Regions from separate parts of the Homo sapiens genome. Here region 2 is linked to region 1. Evidence: promoter capture Hi-C in human tissues and cell types (Jung and others, 2019). All regions are on one chromosome and are shown on one strand. Each heading gives the region's core, a stretch centred on a gene start or on the middle of the fragment in contact. The rest is flanking DNA. Distances are from core to core; before and after follow the strand shown. Region 1 holds the start of GPR161 (G protein-coupled receptor 161). Region 2 overlaps GPR161 (G protein-coupled receptor 161).

Region 1 (5,526 bases), core at 2,155-4,654:
GCCACCATGCTCGGCTAATATTTGTATTTTTAGTAGAGACACGGTTTTGCCATGTTGGCCAGGCTGGTCTTGAACTCCTGACCTCAAGTGATCCACCCGCCTTGGCCTCCCAAAGTGCTTGGGTTACAGGAGTGAGCCACCGCATCCAGCCCAATAATGCTCATTTCAATATATCAGCCCTAGTGGATGACATCATGAAGTGGTCAGACACTTGAAGTTATAGACAGGATCACTGCAAGTATGACACAGATATATAAATGTAGACCAAGTCACCTAACTTGTACTAGTAAATCTGATACCATGAGTGGCATTGTTAATAGTGAGGTGATTTCCAAAATACTGAACAACTCTTGGTGAGGTTTGAGTAAATCAAGGTGCAATCTTCCTTCAATTCACATAGTACTTGCATTCCTAGACAAATTGCTGTACAACAAAACCATGCAAAAAAACCCCTCATGGATATATGTAAAATAGTTTGGTTTCAGACTTAGAAAAGTATAGACAGTTTTTACTGTCATGTGTGAAAGGAACTGTTCTTTTTGTGTAGGACTATTTCATGTACTGCAAGATGTCTGGTATCCTGGGCCGCACCCAATAAATGCCTGGGGTGTCCTCTAATCATTGTGACAAACCCAAAATGCCTTTCAAAATGTCGTATTAAGAATCACTGAGTGAGATGCTTTCTGTTCCAAGTAACAGAAATAAACCCATACTGATTCAATAAAAATATATGTATATTGATTGGCTCTTGTTTCTGATCAGTCCAGAGGCACATCAGTTTCAGGGAAGTTTCCATCTGAGGTCAAATGGTTTTACCATTCTATCAGTGGAGGCATACTGTAAACAAATAAATAGAAAAATTGATGCATATTTTATAAATTTGGACACATTTTATGTAGAAAAACAACAGAGCTGTGAAAGAGTACATAGATTAGAGAATTTCTTTTAGATTGGTCAGGGGCTGAGTGCAGTGGCTCACATCTGTAATTCCAGCACTTTGGGAGGCCAAGGTGAGAGGATAGCTTGAGCCCAGGAGTTAAAGACAAGCCTGGGCAACATAGCAAGATCCCATCAGGGAAGACTTCTCTAAGGAAGTGACATTTAAGGTGAGATGTGAAGGGCAGGAAGGGCTTGGCCTGTAAAGAGTGGAGGAAATAACATTCCATGTGGAACAAATAGCATATTTCACAGTTTTGCTTTCACCAGTTTTATGTGGACTGCTAGACTGAAATGATATTTTACATAAAATATGTTTTATATATAAATTATTCAACACACATGTGAGGTTCAGTTGGACAAGGCCTCTCATTATCTTACTTTATAAGTCTTTGTGGATGTCTCTAAAACAGAATGGTTTATTAAACTAATTTGGGAAAGGAGAATTAGTGTGTATCTTTCTCTTTTTCTAAAAAAATATAAATACATTCTTGCACAAAATCAGTCACGTTTTTCACAATTGTCACCTATACAATGATATACGGTGAAATAATTACTTTAATAATAATTTGTCTGTTTTCTCTGCATCTGATTGAATTCTGCTCATAGCTCAATATTAGCTCCAGAAGGGAAAAAAATCTTAAGAGAGCAATTGAAAATGCATTTGTTGGCAGCAATTTCCATCCCTGAATGCACAGTAAGTTCTGAGCTTATGAGCTCAGAAAAAAGAAAAATCTTTGTGATAAATAATGCATTTGATAATGAGCAGCAGGAGAAAAAAAGTGTTTTCTGTTGAAGAGTTCAAAATGAAATAGAGTAAGTATGGGAAAAGGTTGCTCAGTATGAAGGACATCTTTCGCATCATGGATGGGTATGGAGCCACAACAGCCGTAACTGTTTATTTTTTATTCTCATTCTCACCATGCCAGTCTGTGGCATATATTTTCAGACCTTTCGTGAATACCAATTTTCAAAAGGGTTTAGTTCTCAGATTCTATGTCACTGGATGATTTACTTACATGACCTCATTTAACCTTTTCAACTCTACAGATAGGAAAGTATGAGTATCCCCATTTTATATATGAATAAGCTGAGAGGAAGGTTAACTCACTCCCTCAGGCTCATAGAGCTTAGCCGACATCTGAGTCAGTGTAAATTAAATAAATATCAGGGATTTCAAAATAAGTGTCTAAAATACTATTAAGAACAGAAAGCTTTAAGCTCCTTCAAGTGTCTGGCTTGCCGCGTGACCTAGACTCTTAAGTGGAGCGTCAGCTTCCAGTTTTTGACCAAATAAAGCATTTATCCCATAGGAATATTAAGGCACCCATTTACTTTTTTCTCCCCATTATCCCATTTGTCCCCAGAGCAATGTGGGTGTTTGGCAGGTGCCAGACAGTAAATTACTGTTCTAAATTGTGCCTCAGTGGCCCAATAATATTAAGGAAGCATCTCCCACAGTGTCAATCTGTAGACAAGGGAATAATTAATGTATTTATCAAAGCAGATGGATTTCAGAGGAATGTGAATCCTGCTCTAAGCACAGCATCAGGGTTTGTTTTTTTTTTTCTGGAGTTTAGTGAACTGGGCTTTGTAACTTCTTACCTGATTATTTTGCTGCCCTGTTTGTCCTTCCTTCTTTCCCTTTTTAGCAGTTCTACTCTGTGCTTCAACTTTTCATCCCCTTATTAAGACTGCTGCATAGAAAACGTAGGAGTCTGGAGACAGGCAGGCAAAGTGGGGAGTGAGGAAGGGAAAACAAACATTCTGAGAAGGAACTGTTCCGTCCCCCGAGCTGACAGCGCCCGCTCTTTGTTTTGTGATGACTGCTCCCTGGCCTTTTGGTTCCGAGGGAGTGCAGGGCAGCAGTGTGAAGACCTGTTTACGTCCACTCCCCACTCCCCGGGGCTGGCTTCGGGACGAATTCACTGTGGTATTAACAGAGCCCGGGACAGAGCCTGGCAGAAGGCAGATGGATGCTCGTGCCCGTCGGCTGGATGAATGAAAGGTGAGCAGCAAAGGCGATACCAGGATCGTCCACGGCGGGACTGGAGGAGGAGAATGGGACTGTGCGGAGCCTGCGGGAAGAATCTGAAAGTGTCTGTGTGATGGAGAGAGACATGGAAAAGGCGACGTCCCAGCGGCTGGAACTGGGGCGGAGGAACGGGAACAGGGAAGGCCTGAGTTAGGCACCACAAAGGTTTTCAGGAGAAAAGTGGGGCGAGCCGAGAGGGTAAGGGCGAGACAAAGAGCAGCAGCCGAGGCTGTTCGTGGGAAGAAATGGGAAAGAAGCAGCCGGGAGGGCGGGCGGACGGACGCGAAGGAAGGGGCGCGGGTGGGGAGGGGCGCCGGGAGCTGGGCGGGGCGGGGCAGTGCGGGGCGCGGGGAGGCGGCTCGGGGCTCCGGGGGCCGGAGGGGCCCGGCCGGGCGTGGGGGGGGCGGGGCGGGGCGCGGGCGCCGCAAAGTTACTTGGCCTGCGCCCGCCCGGGTCCGCGTGCTGGTGGCTGGCCCGCGGGAGGAGCGAAGCGGGGCTCGGTGGGCTGAAACCCGAAACCTCCAGTCCCGGAGCGCGGCGGGGAGGAAGGAAGCGGCGGCGGCGGTGGCCGAGGCGGGGAGGCGGCTGGGCCGGGGCCTGAGCTGCCGCGGCGGCCGCTCCTCGGTGAGCACCCGGCGTGGGGCGCGGGCGCGGGCCCGGGCGGAGAGGGCGGTCCGGATGGAGCCAGGCTAAACTCATTGTGCGAGGCTGAGGGCTCAGGGCGCGGGCCGGGAAGGGTCCCCGCCCCCACGGCGCTCCCTTTCTCCCCGCGCCCCTCTCGGAGGTCAGGGCTGTCCTCCGCCCGCACTGCGCCTTGCTTTGGAGAGCTGGAGCTCTTTGTGGGAAGATGTTGGGGGCGCGCCCCTCCCCTGCGGCCTGGGGCTTCTGAGAGGCCCACCCCATTCTGCTGGGTGCAGCCCGCCCCGTTTCTCCGGCGCCGCCCGAAGCCCCTAAACAGTCCGCTGGATGGGAGGGCGTAGGTGCGTGCCCGGGACTCTGCCGATGCGGGCCGCGCCCCCTGGGGCCAAGAGACTCCACGTCCCGCTCAGGGCAAAGGGTGTGGGGAGAAGCGGTCACGCCCCTCGGCTGGAATCCGTGAGGACCAGGTGAGCAGCCTTCTCCCAGCCGGGACTCAGGGCGCTGTCTCCCCGAGCCTGGGCGGGCGGCGGGTGGCGCGCCCAGAAGTGGCCCGGCGCCGCCGGATGGGCGGCTCTGCCCCTCAGATCTGCGGGAGGGAGATTCGGCTGGTTCTTGGAAAGGGGAGAACTCGACCAGCCCTCGGCGCCTTCTGGGCCAAGCTTAACCCCCGTGCAACCTTTGGACAAAGGCATATGGGATGAGAACGTCTGTTGGGTAAGTGGGGTGTGTCCTGTGCTTCCCGGAGGTCTGCTCACCAGTAACCACATAGCTGCGCATTGGCATCGCTTTATATCACATCTTGGAGGCTATTTTTGCTTGTTATTGTACTTTCATCCCTTTTGCAAAGTGCTTTCATAGAGCAGGTCATTTGATCCACCTCCCGGTGAAGCCGTGAGGAGGTGTGTGGTTTTGGAGGGAAAGAACCTCAGTTCCTTGATTGTCCAATGGAGACACCGATAACCTCCGGTGAGCCTGTCTCAGCGTCCTAGGGGCTGGGGGAGGATGGCCATCCTTGTGGCTCCTCCGTGGAGCCAGGCGTGGATTCAGCCTGGCTTCTTCTCCCCTAGTGACCTGGACCTCCAGATGAGTTCTGGAGAGCTACTGCTTCGGGGAATAGGCGGTTTTCCCTTATAATCTATTTTACTGCAGCCACTGGGAGCAAGTGAAGAGAGGCATTTTTCAGGCCCTCAGGGCAGAAAGAGGAGGTGGGAGGGACCTCAGGTCATAGAGACAGAGGCTCTTCAACTGTAACTGGAATGCATGGCACCCATTTCTGTTACTTCTTTCAGAGCACCTCTCTTCCGGTCCTCCTCCACACCCGTCTTATTTTATACTTGTCAGGTGCTTACAAGCACTTTCATGTACACTTTTTCATTCACACAACAACCTTGTGAAGCTCTACTAGCCCATTTGATAGGTGAGGAAACTGAGGCTCAGGAGAGATGAAGCATTCTTGCCCAGCTAGGTAAGCAGCCCAGATTGAACTCAGATCTTTTGCCTTGGTAGTGCTTTTCACGTGGTTTCCTGATGGCACACAGGTGAGTTCTTTAACTCAGGGCTTCTCCCTGCCCTGTAGCTCCACTGCCATAACATCAAGAATAGAGACCCCTCATTAAGAGGCCCGCTTGACATTTTGGAACTAATCCAAGGCCGCAACGATATCCGAACCGTTCTCTTTGTGTTGCAGCCTGGTGCACTGTGCGTCCTCTGAGAGGTGAAGGAGCACTGTGTGGTCAGAGGGCTGCGAGCTCTCTGTTTGGGTTCCGAGGAAGACAGAATGGGCTGAACTGGAACTGACCTAAATGTCAGCAAGAGGAGGTACAGTTCTGTGGTGTAAACTCCACTGCCAGCAGGGACCAGTCAGGAAGCCTGAGTGCAGGAGGCGGGTGGACAGGAGGGCTGGGTGGGAGCTGTGT
Region 2 (6,067 bases), core at 2,818-5,317, 33 kb after region 1:
TGTGATCTGCATACACTGGCTCCCCTTTGTTTTCAGCCATGAGTGGAGGCAGCTTGAAGCCCTCACCAGAGACAGATGCTGCACCATAATTGTACAGCCTGCAGAACCATGAGCTAAATAAACATCTTTTCTTTATAAGTTACCCAGCCTCAGTTATTCCTTTATAGCAATGCAAACAGACTAAGACAGGGTGCATACACTTAGTATTTTTACCTTTGCCCAATTCCTCTCCCTAGGGTTCTGCCAGTTGCATTTACTGGAAGTGTAGGAGAGTGCCTGTTTCCCCAATGCCTTGCCTGCAGAGAGTGCTGCCAACCTTTGGAATTTCCTGGTCTGAAAAGAAAGAAATGGCATCTCAGTGTAGTTTTAACATGGATTTCTCTTATTTTCAGTGAAATTGGGTATTGTTTCAGTGTTTGAGTACCATGGGCATATCTTTCTGTGAACTCTGTGTTTAGGTCTTTGTCTTTGTCCATTTTTTGTTGCTTATAACAAAATACCTGAAACTGGGTAATTTGTAAAGAAAAGGAATTTATTTCTTACAGTGATGGAGGCTAAAATATCCAAGGTTGAGGGGCTGCCTCTGGTGAGGGCCTTCTTGTTGGTGGGGACGCTGTAGAATCCCCAGGTGGCACAGGGCATCACATGGATGGGGGCTGAGTGCTAGCTCAGGTCTCTCTTCCTCTTCCTATAAATCCACCAGTCCCACTGCGTGATAACCCATCAATCCATGAATGCGTTATTCCATTCACGAGAGCAGAGCCCTCATCACCCAGTCACCTCTTAGAAAGGCTCCACTTCTCCATGTTGCCTATTGGAGGTTAAGTTTCAACGTGAGTTTCAGAAGGTACAGGCATTCAAACCATAATAGTCTTACGGCCACTTTTTTATTCTGGGTTTTCATCTGTTTTTTTTCTCTTGATTTTTTTTTAACTAGTTCTTTACAGATGAGGATGATTAGCTTTTTATCTGTGATATAAGCTATAAACATTTCCTCTCTTTATTTCATTTGTCTAATGATTCAACCTCTATTTTCTTTCTTTTTTTATAATTTCAACTTTTATTTTAGATTTGGGGGTACATGTGTAGGCTTGTTACATGCAAAGTCTATTTTCTTAATCACCATGTTGTCCCTTGTGCAGTAATATGCTTATTTAGAAACTTTGAGACGTTAATTAATAATTTACTTATTAGAGTCAACAAACCCAGAACTCGCCAACTAAAGGCAAAAACCAAAAACAACCTTACAAAGACACAGACATAGAAGGCACACCTAGAAAGTATCTCCATAGCACAAAGCTGGAGTAACTAATATGTTACATAACTGAATCAAAATTCAGAATACTTTAGCAGCCTGGAAATATGGGCCAAAATGCATAAAGGGAAATTTAGTAGAAATAATGTTTTGTACATAGGCTTAAAAACATTAATTCCACATGTTCAAGATTAGGGACATCTGTCTTCACAGAAATTCATGTATGTATAAACTTTGGGGTTTAGTCAATCACACACTTATATAAGCCCAACAGAATTAGTTGCTACAAGAAAATGTTTTGAGACAGGGTCTTGCTTTGTCACCCAGGCTGGAGCTCAGTGACACAAACAGCTCACTGCAGCCTTGACCTCTGGGCTCAAGGGGTCCTCCCACCTCAGCCCGCTAAGTAGCTGGGAGTACAGGAATGTACGACCATTCCCGGATAATTTTCTGTGTATTTTTCTGTAGAGACAGTTTCGCCACGTTGCCCGGGCTTGCTCTCAAACTCCTGAGCTCAAGCAGTCTGCCCACATGGGCCTCCCAAAGTGCTGGGATTACCGGTGTGAGCCACTCTGCGCCCTGCCTCCAGAAAATGTATTCTTAGAGTGAATAGTAGAAGGGGATTATTCTGATCATGGAGATAATTGCCCCTTTGGACCTGACACTTATCAAAATACATCCAGAATGGTGTGTTCAATTTTGGGGACCGCAAATCAAGAGAGTCATAGACATCTGAGAGCAAATACAAAGCAGGGAAGCTGAGTTAGTGAAAGGTCTGGAAACCACTATACAGCTCACTATGAGGGAAGCTTTCTCTCTGGCACTTAGGACTGCTGGTGAGGGGAAGGGCTGCCCTATTAACCCATGCACTCCCTCTGGCCAAAGAGTGTTTGAGTAGAGGCAGCGGATCCACCACGAGGGTTGTGAGGATGGCCCCGCTGCTGTGTGTAGGCAGTTTAGGCAGCAGAGTTTTTGTCTTGATCGTGGAAAGCGATCTTTCCTTTCTTTTTGGTGTCTTCTGTGTGCAGAGAATGAGAGCAGGTGGGGAAAGTGATCTGTGGGGTTTTTTGGCTAACTGAAGTATATGAAGAGTTTTGGAGAAACATTAGTCTGTAGGATTTAACATTAACATGTGTCAACCTGCGGCTTTAGCCAAGATCCCAAGCCAGTTTCCTGAGGGCAGGGACTGCACCTTATAGACAGTGATGTCTGTGGGCCAAGACCTCAAATGGTGCCTCTACTTCCCCATTTACAGTTAGTGCTTGCCCTCCCTCGCCGTGTCTGATGAGAACAGTAATGACGTCCCCATATAAACTGTACCTGATTAATCCCTGCTTAGGGAGCTCAGAACAATTCCCATGAGAATCTTACAGTCAAATTGTAATGTGCACCAAAACTGACTGGCGGTGGGCTAAAATGCAGATTTGATTCCGTGAGATGGAGATGCGGAGCCTGAGGTTCTGCCTCTCTAGTGAGCTCTCAGGTGATGGTGATCCTGCTGGTTCAGGGCCCACCCTGAGTAGCCAGGGTCTAAACACAGCAGTCTGCAGAGTGTCTCCCATAGACCACTTGTAACAGCCCCCTGCCCCCTGCCCCAGCCTGCTTGTTTAAAATGCAGATTCCTAGGTTGTGCCTGTGATCTCTGCGCCCAGAACCTCTAGTGGTGGAGCTCAAGGATCAGCTTTCTAAACTGGCACTTCAGACGATTCTTCAGCACATTAAAGGTTTTGAACCACTGGTCTTGGGAAAATGGATAGGATGGGTTAGACCAGAGGAAGAAATTGGTCAGGGGGATGTAATGAATTTCACACATGGTTGTAGAAAATGGCCCACTTATGTAGCGCTTACGTGGGGAAGACCCGCTGAGAGTCTGTACTAGCTGGGTGATCTGAGGCGTAGCACTTAACCCCTTTAAGCCTTTCTTCCCTAAGGTGGAGACGATGTGATTTGATGAATCTTTTCCTGTCCCCTGGTCCTGCCTTATCTTTCCAGTCGTCCAGCATGCTCTGCCCACCCCACGCCGAGGTGCACTGACCATGAGCCTCAACTCCTCCCTCAGCTGCAGGAAGGAGCTGAGTAATCTCACTGAGGAGGAGGGTGGCGAAGGGGGCGTCATCATCACCCAGTTCATCGCCATCATTGTCATCACCATTTTTGTCTGCCTGGGAAACCTGGTCATCGTGGTCACCTTGTACAAGAAGTCCTACCTCCTCACCCTCAGCAACAAGTTCGTCTTCAGCCTGACTCTGTCCAACTTCCTGCTGTCCGTGTTGGTGCTGCCTTTTGTGGTGACGAGCTCCATCCGCAGGGAATGGATCTTTGGTGTAGTGTGGTGCAACTTCTCTGCCCTCCTCTACCTGCTGATCAGCTCTGCCAGCATGCTAACCCTCGGGGTCATTGCCATCGACCGGTAAGCATGCCTCAGACTTAGAGAATTGAGGGATTACTGACGGGCGCTCATCTGGTGCAGTGTCCCTCTGACTGCCTTAGTTCCCTGGAGAGTGTCAGGGGCCCTTGCTGGGGGAGGATGACCAGGTGGAGTTCTGCCTCTGGAGCCATCTCTTCAACCAAAGCACATCTCGTTTTGTCTGTGGATGTTACATACAATATTATATTTTAAAAAGAGCTTCCATCGCCTAAAATAAAACATTGTAGAAACCTCTGATTCTTGGTTTGTAGATGAAGAAGCCGAAGCCAAGGCAGGTTTCAGTTCCGGGCAGCACTGGGTCCAGGGCCTCTGACTCTGCTTCTCTTTCTCCCAGTGTGACCCCTGCTCTGTCTTGCTTTGGTGTTGACTAGTGCAGCCCGAACAGGGAACACCCTCACTGCCCACAGTCCAGGACTGAAAGGAGAGCAGGGGGAAGGAAGACAGCCAGAGAATACAGGCAGTGACACCGGGGAGAGGCCGTGTGCATTTGGAAACTCGGCTGCTCCCGCCCTCAACGTAGCTGATGCACGGGGAGGTCAGGCGCAGCTGATGTTCCTAAGCAGCATCTCGCGGGTTCTTCAGGGTCCCGCATTATGCTGTCAGATTTAGTTGTACAAGTCTTGTGGGCTTTGGCAGCGAGTTTCCCACAAATGAGTGCATTTATTAGAATTTTGCTAATGGCCACTGCGTTCATCACAGGCACAGGTTGGGCTTCATGAGGACAGGGAGGATAGATTCAAGGTCTGTGTCATTTACCAGGAATTGGGGAGGAGAGTAAGTAGTGGGGTTAGGGAAAACACAGAGTGGGGCTAGCCAGGGATATTGTCACTGGGTGACACAAGTCCCCGGGCTTTTTTGAGACTGTCAGTTTTTCAGTCGATGAGTGGTAGTGGAACTGTCCACTGGGAGCACAGACTGCACCTAGACCTGAGGCTGGAATCTGGCAGCTCTTTGTGGCTGCACTGGGGAGGCAGAACCAATGAAGCCATTGCTCAAAACAAATCAATTAGCTTCTCTTTTTTTTTTTTTTTCCCTGAGTAGTAGAGGTAATCCAGAAAATATAATGAATGAAATTAGAAACACATGATCTAACCATCAGAAACAATCACTGTTGATGTTTTTAGTATATTTGCTTCCAGTAATTTTTGGTTGTATACAGCAAATTTTTGAAATAGGCTTCTGGCTCCTATGGTTTTCTGTCCTCCTTTTTTCATTTAGGTGATGGTGAGCATTTTCTCTTATTTTCAAATATCCTTGAAGAAGGTGATTTTTCATGGTTACGAGGTATTCCATCCTGTGGAGGTATATAAATTATTTTCACAGTCCCCTGTTACTGGATTAGATGACTTCACATAGCTTGCTATTCACTATAGCATTCTGAGGAGCATGTGTGTTTGTGTAATTGCTATATTCTCAGTAACAGTAAACATGCTTTCAAGATTCTTGATATATAAAAGGCAAATGACCTTTCAGAAAGTTGTACAAATTTGTATTTCAGCAGCTGTTTGTCAATAGCCTATCAGGACTGATTATATAATTTTTTTTTAAAAAAAAGTTTGGAAGTTTGTTGGCAGTGGGGAGGAATGGGATCTTGTTGTTTTAACTTTTTTTTTTTTTTTGAATTATTAAGTTTTGAACATCCCTTTCTGGGCCCTGGGTCCCGTGGAACATGGAGTGAGGCTAAACAGCTTAGTTGCAGAGATGGAGAGCTGGTCTCTAAGTGCTCCTCTCAGAGCTGTCTCTATATGAATGCTCAGTAAACATGCCAGTCATCTGCAGGGATAGCTCCAGGAGACTGTAAGCTGCTTGCTTAAATCTGGGGTCTAGATGAGTGAGAATGAGATTTTCTACCAGCAAGCATGACAAATCCTCAAATCATGCCAGCAAAGTACTTCATCTGAGAGAGGGTTTACCTCTTTCAGGGCCTTATTTCACACTGGAAATATTGGTTGGATGTCTACTCCAGGAAAGGCCTGTGCCCAATCCTTGGAGTGGTGGGCTACAAGCATGAGCAGGACACAGACCCTGCCCACCAGGGGTTTACAGTTGAGTGGCAGAGGCTGACTTGTGGGCGCCGATTTAACACAAAAGTAGAAATAACCACCATCGACAACTCCACCAGCCACTGCTGCTGATGGGCTGGCAGTGAGTGCTTCAGGGAGAAGGTGGCATTTGAGCTAGGTTCCTAAACAGCAAGTAGGATAGCAGGTACGTAACAGGTGGAGAGGCCCCTTCTGACTGAAGGAGCAGCTTCTGTGTATTCACTTGGTAAGCAATTATTGAGCACCTATTATATGCCCAGCACAGTGGTTGGTGCTGGGAATACATAGCTGAATAAGATGAATAAACATGCTGAGGCCGAGCGTGGTGGCTCACGCCTGTAA

What was found. Contacts are between HindIII fragments. The study calls those that stand out against the background at their distance.
Region 2: a fragment that was not itself captured here is called in contact with the fragment with the promoter of GPR161 in region 1 in 1 of the 25 tissues and cell types used here (adrenal gland).

What each region holds. Positions count from the first base shown.
Region 1 is chr1:168,134,808-168,140,333 of GRCh38, reverse strand. GPR161 (G protein-coupled receptor 161) reads left to right here and starts at 3,404. Exons shown (of 6, transcript NM_001375883.1): 1 at 3,404-3,595. RefSeq lists silencers at 2,709-3,003, 3,532-3,761. The HindIII fragment of the contact is 4,691 bases long and covers 263-4,953 here.
Region 2 is chr1:168,102,075-168,108,141 of GRCh38, reverse strand. GPR161 (G protein-coupled receptor 161) reads left to right here. Exons shown (of 6, transcript NM_001375883.1): 2 at 3,248-3,665. The coding sequence starts at 3,292. Among named protein-coding and RNA genes, the nearest start is that of GPR161, 32 kb to the left of the region's middle. The HindIII fragment of the contact is 8,551 bases long and covers 1-6,067 here.